Regions from separate parts of the Homo sapiens genome. Here region 2 is linked to region 1. Evidence: promoter capture Hi-C in 16 types of primary human blood cells and fetal thymus (Javierre and others, 2016). All regions are on one chromosome and are shown on one strand. Each heading gives the region's core, a stretch centred on a gene start or on the middle of the fragment in contact. The rest is flanking DNA. Distances are from core to core; before and after follow the strand shown.

What was found. Contacts are between HindIII fragments. The CHiCAGO score rates a contact against its expected background, and 5 or more counts as called.
Region 2: a fragment that was not itself captured here is called in contact with the fragment with the promoter of NRG2 in region 1 in 1 of 17 cell types (M1 macrophages); the score reaches 5.1 in M1 macrophages.

The regions. Positions count from the first base shown.
Region 1 is chr5:140,038,970-140,046,840 of GRCh38, reverse strand. NRG2 (neuregulin 2) reads left to right here and starts at 3,542. Exons shown (of 10, transcript NM_004883.3): 1 at 3,542-4,471. The coding sequence starts at 3,772. RefSeq lists silencers at 3,400-3,739, 3,900-4,109 and enhancers at 3,408-4,077, 5,450-5,639. The HindIII fragment of the contact is 2,328 bases long and covers 3,458-5,785 here.
Region 2 is chr5:139,844,790-139,852,660 of GRCh38, reverse strand. NRG2 (neuregulin 2) reads left to right here. Exons shown (of 10, transcript NM_004883.3): 8 at 102-229; 9 at 830-1,057; 10 at 3,964-5,880. The coding sequence ends at 4,744. Among named protein-coding and RNA genes, the nearest start is that of PSD2, 53 kb to the right of the region's middle. RefSeq lists silencers at 3,883-3,942, 3,993-4,412, 4,543-4,732. The HindIII fragment of the contact is 1,442 bases long and covers 2,222-3,663 here.

The DNA.
Region 1 (7,871 bases), core at 2,293-4,792:
TATAATCCCAGCACTTTGGGAGGCCAAGGCAGGCAGATCACCTGAGGTCGGGAGTTCAAGACCAGCCTGACCAACATGGAGAAACCCCGTCTCTACTAAAAATACAAAAAATTAGCCAGGCGTGGTGGCAGGCACCTGTAATCCCAGCTACTTGGGAGGCTGAGGCAGGATAATCACTTGAACCCGGGAGGTGGAGGTTGCAGTGAGCCAAGATCACACCATTGCACTCCAGCATGGGCAACAAGACCAAAACTCTGTCTCAAAAAAAAAAAAATAAGAGAGAGAGGGGAAAATAATATTTTTATTCTTCATGACATGTGCTGTTGAAAAATTGTATCGCCTTTTTTTTTTTTTTTTTTTTGAGACAGTGCTCTGTTGCCCAGGCTGGAGTGTAGTGTCATGAGGCTCACTGCAACCTCTGCCTCCTGGGTTCTAGCATTTCTCCTGTGTCAGCCTCCCAAGTAGCTGGGATTATAGGGGAGCGCCACCACGCCTGGCTAATTTTTTTTTTGGTAGTAGTAAAGATGGGGTTTCACCATGTTGGCCAGGTTAGTCTTGAACTCCTGACCTCAAGTGATCCACCCCACTCAGCCTACCAAAGTGCTAAGATTACAGGCATGAGCCACTGCACCCAGCCGCATTTTTTAATATACAGAAAATCCTAGTGAATATTTTTAATATACAGAAAATAAATACCACTTAGAGATTCTCAGCTCTTAGATTGGGAACCACCAGTATAAGTAAAATATTAGTAATCTTCAACTTTAATTTTGGCCCTTACTGTGCACCAGACATTGTTCTAAGCACTTTACATATTATCTCACATAATCCACATCCTCATCATCCTTCTAGTCTCAGCTTAAATGTTATCTCCTCAGAGAAGCCTTCCCTTATCCAAGTAGACCTATCCTCTCCCCTTTCCATTATTCTCTAGCATTTCATCCTGTTTATTTCCTTCAGGACACTCAGCAATACAAGTAATTAGTTACCCATTTGTGTACTTATTTACTGTTGTCTTCCCAGTCAGAGTATGAGCTTTGAGAGCACAGACATGTACTATTGAACAGTTTGGTTCACCACAGTACATCCAGTAACATACAGTGCCTCAGTGCTTGGCACAGAGGAGCCATTCAATTGAATATTTATTGAAAGTACATACTGAGCAAAAAACAGCTTTACGAAGTAGACCCTATTATTTTCTCCTTCATACTGATAAGGAAACTAAGGCCTAGAGAGTGAAATAGACTCATCCCAAAGTTGGTAAGTCACAGAGTTGCTTTAAAACCCAGCTCTGCTGGGCTCCAGAGCACAAGCTCTTCACTATGACCCTGGTCTCAGGAACAGAAGACTGAGTTCAGTCCTGGCTGTGTGAAATGTTGAGTAAGTCCCCTATCCCCTCTGGGACTTTTTCTTTCATTGTAAAATGAAAGAGTGGATGTCGCTATCTTCCTTATGGTGATGTTTTGTGATTTATGAGGTCTGTGATCTATGAAAATGAAATGGGGGACACTGAAGGAGCCAAGAAGATTGGCTTGATGCCTTTAAGCGTGCCGATTTTCAGTTATTTTCTTCCTTCTCTCCTTCTTTCACTGGAGATTTGCTAATCCTTATTTTATGCCAGGCATTGTGTTGGAGGTAATAGGAATCCAAAGATGAATAGGATATATATAGTCCCTGACATTAACGTGCCTGGCCTGATGGGAGATGCAGACCCATTAAATGGCTGCTTGAAATACGGTATGGGCCAGTATCCCAACAGTAATACTATGTGTGAAGCTCATGGCAATACAGAGGAGGAAGGGATTAATTCCATCATGTATGTGTTGGTGGGAGTAGAGGTGGATATGTAGGAAGGGGGATGCGGTATAATGCTGAGCTGGGCCTTGGGAAAATAAGTTTTCCATGTGGTCAAGGTGGAGGTGAGGCTTTCTGGACACAAGAGACATCATGTGCAGAAGCACACCAAGAAAGAGCATGAAGTGCTGAGGATTGCTAGAGTGGGGGGTTGGCTCTCAGGATATGAAGCTGGCTAGGCAAAGGGAGCCCATGAAGAGCCTTGCTGAGGAGTTTGAACTTAACTTCTGAGAGCAGTAGCATGGCCAAATTGTACTTACATTTTATTTTTAGAAGGATCACTCTGGCATTGGTAGGACTGGAGATAGGTGATGAGGTGAAAGGAGTGGAGACCAGTTAGAAGGCTTAGAAGTTGTCCAGGTGAGAGATGATGAGGGCTTGGACTTAAGGTATTTGCAGCAGAGTTGGAGTGGAAGTAGATAAATTGGAGATTATTTTAAAAGAGAGACCCAAAGGCCTTGGTGATTAATTGGATGAGGAAGAATAAAAGATGAGATGAAGGGACTTATTGTAATGGATTGATGTAGTCTAAAAGAATAAAACAGTGGCATTAATAATTATAGGGGATTTGGAGTGAAGTGGAAGAAATAATGATGTTGGCTTTGGATGTATTGAGTTTAAGATGTCTCTTAGCTAGGAGGAAAGGTGTAGCTCTCTCTACTTCCTTTCCAGAATAGCAGTCCTAGCCTAAGTCACTCATCCTTGGACCAGTTTCCTGTGGAGCCCAGTGCGGTATAAAATTCCCCAAGAGCTCACTGGCATTCCTGAGCTCCACATCCTTCAAGGTTAAAAGCTGGGTGTTGAAAACTCCCTGGACCCTCATTGATAGGCTAATGGATTATGGACCTGTGTGTGTGTGTGTGTGTGTGTGTGTGTGTTTTAAATCAGATGCTGGCTCCAGTGCAGCAAACTCTTCTGCCTCTTGCAAGCATCAGCCTTGGAAACAAAACAAAACAAAACAAAAAAAACCTTTTTTATGGAGCAGCCTCTGGCCCTGACAGGCTCTGGCTCTCTGTTGGCTCCCAAGAAGCCCCCCACCTTTCTTAGAGATCAGATTTTTAAAAGATGAGGTTGTACAGTGCTCAGCCAGATCCCCACGTGGCCGCTGAAGAAAGCCCAGAGTGTTGGGGACTGGGCCCTTTCTCAGCTACCACCTCTGCTTGGGTGTCCTCAATGCTAAGACAAGACACCTTGTGGCCCAACTCTTTCCAAAATGACGGGGCTGGGATTCTCCCCCACCTCAAGTCGAATATCCAGCGTTCACCAGGCGGTGGCAGGACCGAGCACGTGGTATCATTTAGGGGCTGGGCTCCAGGGTCCTCCTAGGAAAGAGGACAGCCCAAGAGGCGAGAGGCTGGCCGGCCACCCTGGCCATGGCAACCTCTCTGGCTCCTACAGCTGCTGGCCAAAGGCAGGGGGCACGCCCTGCGTCCCATTACCACGTTCATAGGATGGTGCCAGGAGCCCGTTATCTCTTCTTCGCCTTCTCCTCACGCACCACCCCCACTGTCATGCCGATAAATCCCGGGAGCAAAGGGTGGCACGATTCCTCCCGCGCCCCTGCGGGCTGAAGGCGGGCACTAAAGCAGTGCAGTCCCAAGCTTCCCCTGCAGAAGCCGCGCTCCCTACTCGGTCCGGGGGCAGAGGGGGCGCGAGAGAGCAAGTGGGCGGGCGTCCCATCCTCCGCATCCTCCTCCAGGTCCTGGCGCACAGGGTGGGAGCGCTGCGCTGCGCCGCGCTGCGCATCGCGGCCCGCTTGCCGCCTGCCCCCTGCCCTAGCTGGGCCACCTCCCCGGGCTGCCGGTGGAGGGCTAAGAGGCGCTAACGTTACGCTGTTTCCGGTTTTCCAGCGGGCTCTGTTTCCCCTCCCAAGGCGGCGGCGGCTGAGCGGCGGAGCCCCCCAAATGGCCTGGCCAGATGCGGCAGGTTTGCTGCTCAGCGCTGCCGCCGCCGCCACTGGAGAAGGGTCGGTGCAGCAGCTACAGCGACAGCAGCAGCAGCAGCAGCGAGAGGAGCAGCAGCAGCAGCAGCAGCAGCAGCGAGAGCGGCAGCAGCAGCAGGAGCAGCAGCAACAACAGCAGCATCTCTCGTCCCGCTGCGCCCCCAGAGCCGCGGCCGCAGCAACAGCCGCAGCCCCGCAGCCCCGCAGCCCGGAGAGCCGCCGCCCGTTCGCGAGCCGCAGCCGCCGGCGGCATGAGGCGCGACCCGGCCCCCGGCTTCTCCATGCTGCTCTTCGGTGTGTCGCTCGCCTGCTACTCGCCCAGCCTCAAGTCAGTGCAGGACCAGGCGTACAAGGCACCCGTGGTGGTGGAGGGCAAGGTACAGGGGCTGGTCCCAGCCGGCGGCTCCAGCTCCAACAGCACCCGAGAGCCGCCCGCCTCGGGTCGGGTGGCGTTGGTAAAGGTGCTGGACAAGTGGCCGCTCCGGAGCGGGGGGCTGCAGCGCGAGCAGGTGATCAGCGTGGGCTCCTGTGTGCCGCTCGAAAGGAACCAGCGCTACATCTTTTTCCTGGAGCCCACGGAACAGCCCTTAGTCTTTAAGACGGCCTTTGCCCCCCTCGATACCAACGGCAAAAATCTCAAGAAAGAGGTGGGCAAGATCCTGTGCACTGACTGCGGTGAGTCGCCCCCTCCCTTTGCTGGAGAAAGGGGGGAGGGGCGAGGTGGTGGAGAATGGGGGTGGGGCGGGGAGGTGCTGCAGGTGCCCGGGCCTGGCAGCGTCCGGGCGCTGGGGGGGTGGGGCCGCCCCTGGGCAGGGCGCCTGGCACGGGTGGGTGAGGGGGTTGGGGTTGGAGAGAAGAAGGATCAGGCTCAAAGTGTGCCAGGGGTGGGGGGCGGAGGGAGGCGCTGGCCTGTGCCAGCGGGGATCTGCGGCTGATGTATGGCATGTGGGGCTGGAAAGCTGCCATCATAGCCCAGTAGCGGAAGGAAAAACGGAGAGGTCCTGGCGGTGCTGGCCTGAGGCTCAGTGAGTCAGGAGTGACCCTCGGAGGCCTTGCCTGCCCTGCTGCCGCGGGCCTGCCGTGCCCAGGCTGGCAGGGTCTGCGGGAGCAGCTGGGCAGACTCCCAGGCTGTGAAGGCCTCCGCTTACAAGTTCTCCTAGGGAATGGTCGCCCCCGCCCCCTCCTTCCTCTCCTGGGCTCGTTGCTCTGCTCATCCACACCGCTGGCGCAGGCAGAGTTGGACTTTTTCTGCTACTGTTTTCCGTCCTCCATGTGGCTCCAGTTTTTTTCTTCATCGTGATTGCCTGTCTTTGCTAAGCAGGTAGCACATCCTTCTCTTAAGACTAGCAAGCAGACACCTTTTTTTTTTTTTTTTTTTAGCTGTTTCTGGGGGAATTACAAGGTCTGTTGATTGTGATGATGATGAAAGAGAGTAACTTCTGCTGAATGCTTTAAGTTCAGCTCTAACGTCTTACTCGCCGGATGTATTTGACTGCATCTCTCATCTTCATGATGTTGGATGCTGCACAGGAATGCAGGTGATTAGAAACAAAACACTGAAATCTGTAGATCTCTGCAGCTGGGAATGGAAGTCTCCCATGTCAAAAGTCAAAGAAATGTCAGTCTAAGAGCTTTTTCTTCTTGTCCCTGAATCCAGTACTTACTTCTTAGTAAGATATTTCAAATCAAATTGTCCCACACTGGAGTATTTGGTGTAAGCCTGTCTCGTGCTTATTCAAATTGAGGTTTCGTTTTGTCCCAACTAAAGCTGAATTTGTTGGCATGCGGTATGACTTGCTGGACTGTGTAATCGCTGAATTATGATAGATGTCCTGTACTCTCATAGAAGTTGGTATGTTTACCAGTTTTACCAACTGATTCTGGGTAGTGTAGACAGGCTTTGTTTGAGTAGCAAAATATGTGTAACAGCTTATAGTAAGTTTTGCTGCCTTCATCTTTCTAGATCGATACCTATGATTTTTGGAAGCTTTCCTCCCCCACCCCCTTCAGGAGGCAAATTTTAGGAGTTTAGTGATGGGAGTATATCTAGACACTAACTATGTTAAACTGTGATCACTTTAATGAGAAGAATCTTGGCAATGTCTTAATAAGGAGGGGAAAACTTTGGGGGATAACAGCAGTTTATCGCTCTGACATTATCCTTAGGAATATTGTTGACTGCTTTTTATTATTGGTTTTATGTTCTGAAATGTTTTATAAAGACAAGTAGAGACCAGCTAAGAATTTCTAATTTTTTATTCTATTAAGTATTTTGATACTTGGGGAGTATTAAAATACTCTGAGATGCCTTGGGGAGCTGTGAAACAGTATTGTACAGTGGAAAATAGATAGTAAAAATATTTATTGAATCTTGTCCAAGGACAGCTTCTGTTTGGTTGTTGGTGAGTTGCTCCTGCATTTGCACAGTGTACATCTCCACATAATCCCTAGTCTGGGCCGCTGAGGACTTGATGGTCTTTGTCAGATAACCCCATAGAGTAACTGGCTTCTCTGCTCCCTTGTCTCCCTCCTCCTACTTTCTCCTTCCCCCAACACAATACACCTTATCAATTACACATTGTTTGTTCTAGTGGGTATTCAGTAGCTTAACAGTTGAATGCAGAAATCATGAAAGATTTGAGGGGCAGAAATATGGTCTGTTTCTAGGTTATGATCATCTCATATTATCAAAATAGCATGTGTAGTATAGTTCTTAAAAAGATACATTTAGAACTGCAATCACTGGTAAAGGAAGGGCCCTCACATATCACAAATTATCAAGGATCAGGAATGTGTATGGCAGTAAACATTTTAGAATGCAAAAAAAAATTGCTTTGAATTGATATTCAAAGGGAAGTATATAAATAGGTACCATTTTGGGGAGCCTTATATAAGGGGATTAGAAATTAAAGGACATATTTGTGAGACTTGTGGAATTGGTGATAATATAACAGAAGAGCATAAACTGCATTTTCTTGTTTTCTACTATGTGGTTAAAGAAAACATGTACTGGTAATGCTATATTAAATAAGGAAACAAAATCATCCTAACTAACCACAACACTGTCCTTGTGCTTAGCAGGAAATAACTAACAAATTCATTTTCTGTTTTCTATTCTAAAGAAAGCCCTCTGGGCCACAGGGTCATTGGGAACATTTTCTCCTTGGAGCAGATTTGCCCATTGCAAAATAGGGAAACTGGCACTTGGAAACTGTCGTCATGGCCGTTACATTGAGCAACTGAGGTTGCATTGTTGCTTTGTTTAGCTAGTTTCAGGTCTGAGTGTGTGTAGGTTCTGAGAGGTGTGGTTCTCTGGGAAGTCACCTAGAAAGCCCGTGGGTTTTTTTTTGGAGGGGGGCAAAATATGGAGGGATAATATTGTGTTTAAAAATTGGCCTCAGGAGCATCAATGCAGGAGGTCACACTGGACCTCTTCTTATCAGTCCTCATAAATGGCTCGTTTCCACCATGAAATGTTGACTTGAAGTCTGTGATCTAAGGTGGGGAAAGGTAGACAGGGGTCTTTCTGGAAGAGCAAGACCTGCCAGAGTGATATTTTTACATATCTAATGTGTATCATTTATCCAGAAAGAGTACATCTGGTGATAGAGTTGAGTAAAATCTTTGCATTTCTTAGAAGATTGCATTGTATGGAGGGAGGTGTTTTCTGTGCCTTCTGTGGAAAGGCGAGGAAAAAGAGTTAGAAAGGCCTTGCAGGGATTAGCAATTCTGTACAATGTTATAAAAACATCATGTTCTGCAAATAGTCCTGCATTTTAAAAGATGGTTGCATATATTTTGGTATAATTACACCCTATCTTGTTGTTTTCTTATATTCATGTTTTTAAGCAGTTTCCTTATTGAATAGATGCAGTAAATAGCATAAAAAATGAAGATCATTTCTTTCTTTGGGATTTCCTGATTAGCAGTTTTCCAGTGTATAGTGTACTTTGTTGCTACAAGGAAAGGTGTATTCCTAAGGATTTTTACATTCTTTAGGATAGTTTTAAATTAATGTGGCACCCAGATTCACATATTAGAGAAAGGTGGTTCACAAAATTCAGTATAGCAAAAG
Region 2 (7,871 bases), core at 1,693-4,192, 190 kb after region 1:
AACCAGGAGCTCAGTCAGTGCTCATCACTTCCCTGTCCCCAACAAGAAAGAGTTCATTTGGGCCCCAGTCACTAACTCTCGCCCAACTCTGTCTGTTCCAGTATATTTCCAAGAACGTGCCAGCCACAGACCATGTCATCAGGAGAGAAACTGAGACCACCTTCTCTGGGAGCCACTCCTGTTCTCCTTCTCACCACTGCTCCACAGCCACACCCACCTCCAGCCACAGGTAGGCACCACCAAGGCCCATGGAAACTTGTAGACTCACATACTTCATCTGGCGCAAAGTGCCCACTTACTCCGACATCCAGAGCTATTCAATACCCTCCCCTGAGCTTGCCACAGGAATCACAGCACACCTTAGCCTCCTCTCCAGAACTGCAGAGGCCAGTCCACACAGCACAAAGGCTCAGACAACTCAAAAATAACATGGCTGGCTCCCTTCTTCCCTCGGGAGCACCAGGAAATAGTCAGGGCCCTCACATACTGGCCCCTGGGGCTGGGCTTCTGAGATAGGTAGCTAAGGACCACGGTGGTGGAAAGGTCCCAGACAGGGGGTCTAAGGTAAGGCTGGGGGGAGGCTGGTTGCAGGAAGGAAAGAAATGGGTCTCTGCACATTACAGCTCACCCATCTATGGGACCCCAGCCCTCCTTCTTCCAATATTGGGGTTGGGCATTTGCAACAATACACATCACCCCAGAGTGGAGAAGGGCATTGAGCTAAGGGAGCTCGAGGTGGAAGAAGAGCCAGGGAGGTCCATGGGACCACACCTGCTGGGCCGCCCTGCCCCTTCCTGACCCCTCGTCTCACCCCATCTGGCCTTCCCAGACACGAGAGCCACACGTGGAGCCTGGAACGTTCTGAGAGCCTGACTTCTGACTCCCAGTCGGGGATCATGCTATCATCAGTGGGTACCAGCAAATGCAACAGCCCAGCATGTGTGGAGGCCCGGGCAAGGCGGGCAGCAGCCTACAACCTGGAGGAGCGGCGCAGGGCCACCGCGCCACCCTATCACGATTCCGTGGACTCCCTTCGCGACTCCCCACACAGCGAGAGGTCAGTTCCTACCCCCTGACCTATTCCCCGCTTAGCCAGAGGGCTGGCACCACTGGCCCAAGGCTGACCCTTAGGGCCCCTCAGAAACACTCCAAAGAGCCTCATCTCCATTTTTCATATGGGAAAACAAGGTCCTAGAAAAGGTGAAATGGCCTGCTCAGAGCCATCGGCATGTTAATGACAGACTGGGACTAGAGTTGGGCCAGTGGACCCTGGTGGACAGTGACCATCTAATTTAATTGTCCTCCCAGGACACTTTTCACACTAGAAAAAGGACATTATTAATAGTTACACTGGAACATCAAGAACAAACAGGCAGCCGGGCGCGGTGGCTCACACCTGTAATCCCAGCACTTGGGAGGCCAAGGCGGATGGATCACCTGAGGTCAGGAGTTTGAGACTAGTCTGGCCAACATGGTGAAACCCCCATCTTTACTAAAAATACAAAAATTAGCCAGGCATGGTGGCACATGCCTGTAATCACAGCTACTTGGGAGGCTGAGGCAAGAGCATCCCTTCACCTGGGAGGCGGAGGTTGCAGTGAGCTGAGATGGCGCCACTGCACTCCAACCTCAGCAACAGAGCAAGACTCCCTTTACAAAAAGAAAAAAAAAAAAAGAACAAACAGGGGCTGTTCTGGACAAACCAGGATACATGCTAGAAGTTCCATGTCCCAGCAGGAACAGAAGGAGACACGAAGAAGGAGTAAACTGCAGAGTGGGAGGGGAGGTTGCCTTTGAGGACACTGACCAGCACAAGATGGACGTGAGCCAAGAATGATGGCAGGCCTTGGCAGTAGCAGCAACAAGACCCCAGGGTTCAAGGCCTTGTTGGCTTCCTAAGCAGTGGATGTAGTAAGAACCAGGAAACGCCCTTTCTTCCCTGACTCCAAGCCAGAAGTCAAGGGCCAGCACCCCTGCCACCTTGCTCAGCCCTGAGTGGCCCTCAGCAAGTGGGGTCTGTAGGAGGTGAGCAGGGAAAGATGAGTGGTACTAAAAACTCCACACCAGGGAGCAGGGAGAGGAGCAGATATTCCCTTGCTCTCAACTCAGCCTACTCCATGCCAGGCCCTGTGCTGGGCAGGCCTGGCTGGGAATCCAGAAGTGGCCTGCCAGGTTCCTGCTCCTGAGGAGCTCCTAGCCACAGAAACAAACCAAGGAAGCTTACAGCAGCCTATGGAAGGTGCTAAACATGACACCACACCAGGGCAGAGAGACCCAGTCTGACTGTAGGCTCTGGGAAGTAGCCAGATTTTCTAAGCCCAGCTCCACCACCTGTGTGATTTGGGGCAGACTGATCACCTCTGTACCTTGTTCCCTCAGCTGTAGAACAGGGAGAACAAAAGCTACTATGCATGGTTCAAGTGAAGGCCACCTGAGATCATGTGCACAGAGCTCTTTGTCTCATCCCTGGCATGGAGCTGATGCTCACTAGGTGTAGCTATTTATGAATCGTAACCACAGCAATGAGACTCCTTAATGGGTGGTAGGAAGGGGAGAGGCAGGAGAGCAGGAAGAAAAGCATTCTAGGCACGGGGAACAACTTGAGCTGTTCCAACAGAGGCACTTAAGAACAGGGCTGATGAGTGAGGTGCCTGGAACAGAGTGGGCTGTAGGGAGCAGAGGAGCTGGGCCTGAACAGGCAAGCTGAGGCCAGACAGACTGACCCTGGGTGGGTAAACAGGAAGACCGGCTTCAGCAGAGCTGTGACTTTACAAGATTGCTCTGGGAACTGCATAGAGTGAAGGAGGAGAGACCCTGGGGTGGACCCAGATGACCACATGTGAACAGTCGGGCCCAGGATGGGGTGGAGAGTGTGCTTCCGGAGAAGGGAATGGGTAGGACTTGGTGGTTAATCAGATGTGCCGGTGGGAAAGGGAAGAGGGAGGAGTCAGGCGATTCAGAAAAAATGATAATGGGGACTCCAGGCTGGTTCCAGAGAGCAGTGAGATGCCCAGCTGTGCAGTTTGGAAGGGAAGCGTGGAGGTGGGTGGCCCCTGTCCTGAGGTGACAACGGTGGGGCAGAAGACTGATGGGCTTACAAGGGGGATGTGGAGCACAAAAGGGGACAGGTACCCGGGATCCAGCCTGGGAGATATTAGCAAGGCCAGACTTCTGAAGGAGCTGGTGGTGTGGGGATGGGTCTGTAGCCACAAGCAGAGACACCTCATGGGATCTTGGTACTCCCCTGAAGCAGGTTTTGACTTCACTGTAAGGAGGAATATTTCCCTCACTGAAGCCATCAGGGCATGGGAGGAATTGTCCCTGTGGGGCAGTGAGGCCAGGTCACAGGGGTATCTGAATGGAGACTAATGGCTTCTGGAATTGGGCAGTATGAGTCCTGGTTCCTGACTAGCCTCAAGTCACATCCCAGCTCTGCCACTTCTTGGCTGTGTAAATCCTGAATAAGTCACTTAAACGTTCTGAGTGTTACTTTCCTGCGTGTAGAATTAAACGTTCTGAGTGTTACTTTCCTGCGTGTAGAATGGGACTGGCGGAAGGGTCTTACAGAGCTGCGGTATTAAACCAGATGGAACATGTACCCCAGCGTGAGCCTGACCCCCTGACGGTGAGCATTCCCACAGCAAGTGACCATTCATGAAAGCTTACCAGGGTCAGGCACAGGGCTAACACATCCCACTGATACAATCTGGAATCATCCCAACAGAGCTATGGAATCAACACCATGGTTATGCCCGCGTAACAGATAAGGAAACCGAGGCTCGGAGAGGTTTAGGAAATTGCATAAGGCCACTGAGGGTTGCTGCCGTCATTCTTGCAGGCGGGGTCTCGGGCAAGGTTAAGGCAAGTCTGGGTCCGCCCCTCCCACCCTACCCCACCCCCAACCCCCCCTCCCCCGCGCCGGCCCGGCCTGGCCCTGGCCCATGCCTCTGCCTCTCCCCGCAGGTACGTGTCGGCCCTGACCACGCCCGCGCGCCTCTCGCCCGTGGACTTCCACTACTCGCTGGCCACGCAGGTGCCAACTTTCGAGATCACGTCCCCCAACTCGGCGCACGCCGTGTCGCTGCCGCCGGCGGCGCCCATCAGTTACCGCCTGGCCGAGCAGCAGCCGTTACTGCGGCACCCGGCGCCCCCCGGCCCGGGACCCGGACCCGGGCCCGGGCCCGGGCCCGGCGCAGACATGCAGCGCAGCTATGACAGCTACTATTACCCCGCGGCGGGGCCCGGACCGCGGCGCGGGACCTGCGCGCTCGGCGGCAGCCTGGGCAGCCTGCCTGCCAGCCCCTTCCGCATCCCCGAGGACGACGAGTACGAGACCACGCAGGAGTGCGCGCCCCCGCCGCCGCCGCGGCCGCGCGCGCGCGGTGCGTCCCGCAGGACGTCGGCGGGGCCCCGGCGCTGGCGCCGCTCGCGCCTCAACGGGCTGGCGGCGCAGCGCGCACGGGCGGCGAGGGACTCGCTGTCGCTGAGCAGCGGCTCGGGCGGCGGCTCAGCCTCGGCGTCGGACGACGACGCGGACGACGCGGACGGGGCGCTGGCGGCCGAGAGCACACCTTTCCTGGGCCTGCGTGGGGCGCACGACGCGCTGCGCTCGGACTCGCCGCCACTGTGCCCGGCGGCCGACAGCAGGACTTACTACTCACTGGACAGCCACAGCACGCGGGCCAGCAGCAGACACAGCCGCGGGCCGCCCCCGCGGGCCAAGCAGGACTCGGCGCCACTCTAGGGCCCCGCCGCGCGCCCCTCCGCCCCGCCCGCCCCACTATCTTTAAGGAGACCAGAGACCGCCTACTGGAGAGAAAGGAGGAAAAAAGAAATAAAAATATTTTTATTTTCTATAAAAGGAAAAAAGTATAACAAAATGTTTTATTTTCATTTTAGCAAAAATTGTCTTATAATACTAGCTAACGGCAAAGGCGTTTTTATAGGGAAACTATTTATATGTAACATCCTGATTTACAGCTTCGGAAAAAAAAAAGAAACAACAAAAAAAAAAGAGAGATGGGCCAATTTTTTGACTCTTTAATAGAAACCTATTTTGTGGTGCCTTTTGCTGTATGCTCATCTGGGGCTCCGGGGGACAGGTCTGGGTTGTGGGGTGCTGAGAGTGACAGCTGGGAGAGAAGAGGTGCGGGTTCTGTTGGGGGCGAGGGTGGGGGGCGGTGGGGGGTTGGCCCTAAGGAAGAACTGAGGACGGAAGTAGCTTTGCTCCCAGGCAAGAGCTGAAGTTCCCGACCCCTGGGAGGAGAGGGCCAGGACCCTAGGCTTGGAGCTGGAGCTGGGGTAACTTCCAGGGGGAGATAAAGACACAGCTACCCGAATGGGGAAGCCCTGGCTACTCACAGCTGTTAAAGGAGGGGGGGCAGAGAAACGTTTCCCCAAGAGCCTGAGCCCAGGGAGGTGGCAGCTCTGCCAGGGGCCCAATGTTGGCGGCTCCTGTCCCCCACAGCCTCCAGGACGCCCCTCCGTCCTCTGCAGCACCTTCGTTTACAGGTCGTCTTTTCTATTTTACACCTGCATGTCCTTTGCATTTCAGATTCTTTAGATTGGATGCATGGTCACGCTGGGACCGAGAAGAGCCACTCGACAGTGTATTCCCCTTTTAGCAATAAAGTAACACCATTTCCTTCTCACAGGCTGCCTCCTAGCCCCCAACCCACCTATGACATCCACTCGTCTCCAGTCCTGCCCTCCCACCCCCAAAAACTGGGTCCACTGCTAATTTGTCAAAAAGGTAATTGTTTAAAAAAAAAAAAAATCCCAAACAGAAACAGATGGGAATCCTGTCCTGAAATGTCTGAACACCTGACTGTTGACACTTGAACATTTTTATATTATAAATAAAATCAGAAATAACTCCTGTTTGACTGTGTGTGCCTAGCCTCAGATGAGGAGGGAACTCAGAGCACGAAGTCCCATGGTGGATGTGGATGATGCTGGCCTGGAGGTTGGAGGGGGCCAGGGCAGTCCCTGGAAGGAAGTGACCCTGTCTCCGGTCTCTCCGGCCCCAGCTCACAGGACAGACTCCAGCCCTCCTCCCGCTTCCAAGAATATTTACAAGGTGTCCCCACTGGCTGCTGGGGAACCTGGCCAAGGGACTGACACAAATTGCTCTGCTTCAAACTCAGCGTTGGAACTCTGGCCCAGTTCCTGCCCTGGATCTATGGGCCGGACTGAGGCAACAGTTGCCGGCCTAGGTGGTTGAGGAGGGATGGGTTGTGGGGTTGGTAATAGCACAGCCAAGGCAGGATGACCCTTGGACCCTGAGGCACGTCACAGGCAAAGTCTGAACATGCAAAGTGGCATAACAGTGGTACCCTCAGCTGCCAGGACCACAGCTGCTGCAGTTCATAAGCCCACAGGGTGTTGCTCTTTCCCCAACTTTATACCCCCTCAGAGCCAGGACCTGTCTAAACCCGCAGACCTGAGAGAGAGTACATGATTTCAGTATGGAGAAGGCAGATGGAGGCCCAGGTTCAAAAGCCTTTCCCCTCATCAACTAATTTAGTAAACCAGTGCCCAGCACCCGGAACTATTCGGTTCCAGCCAGACACACGGACGTCTTCCACCCAAACAGCTGAGGTGGTTGGCATGCACACTCGGCTACACGTGTGTGTGTGTGTGTGTGTGTGTGTGTGAATCCCACTAGGATGTGTGTAGTCAGAGACCTATAGGTGGGAGGGACAGAGAGGCTGCGGGTTGAGAGGGCTTTGGCATCAACAGGGCGTAAGTTCAAATTCCAGCTCTGTGCCGCCTAGCTGTGTGACGTCTCTAGGCCACAGTTTCCTTGCTGGGAAATGGGTGATGTAAATACCTATTCCAAAAGGTTGCTGTGGAGATTATAAAGTACCCAGTGCTGATGCTGGCACGTGATAGATGCCTATTACATGGCTGATTTGATGGTGGTGATGACAATATCCTGTGCCTTGCATCCTTGTATCACACAGCCAGAGTGACAAAAACTAGATGAGAGGGAGTCGATGGAAAAAAATAAAGAACAAATTAAAGTTATTGTATTTATTGTGGGGGTGCTGGGAAAAAGTATCTGCTACAAAAAATTTTAAAAAGGAAAATAATGAACTCAATCCTGCATAAACCTGCAACTCACTGGCCCCTCCCGGCCCCCTTCTGTTGATCTCATCCAGGCCCCTCTGCTGTCTCTGGTTTCGTAGTTGACTTTAAAATTCTCTGAGAGCCAGTTATTCTTCTCTGTGACTTGTGGCTTCTGTAGGATCCCAAATTAACTCCATATGAACTCTTGGGGAACCCATTGACCTTTGTGTGGTCCAGCTTATTGTCCTCGTGTGACCTTTCTGGGGGCTCTAGGTTGCTGTTGCTTTCTAAATTTTAGAGTCAGAAGCCACCCAATGAACCCACCAATCTCTATGTGGCCCTCGGTTGATTCTGAATGACCTCTTGGTGAACTCACCGATCTTTGCATGAGCATCGGGTACCTTCATTATATGCTTTGAATCCTACAGTACCTGCCATATGTGCGGAGAGTCCAAGGCCAGAACCTAACAGAGTTCTTTCCTCACCTGTCATCCACCCATTCATTTCACAGGTATGATTAGGACCCGGGAACACATGTGGCCAGAGAGGCCCCTTCTCCACTCTGCCTCTCAAACCTCTGCCTGGGGAAGCCTTCCCAGTGGCCTTTCAGGAAGAGTCGCAGTCCTGTCAAGCTACTTCCCTACCACCGCCCCGTCGCTGGAACACGTAGGACGACATTCAGGCAGCTTCGCAAGTCAGAGGCTTCATCCCCACTTTCCCAGTTCTTTCTTTTCTCTTCCAGGTCATTTTTTGGCTTCTCTTTCCAGCCCCTCCCAGAGGCCCAAGTGGTAATGGTAACT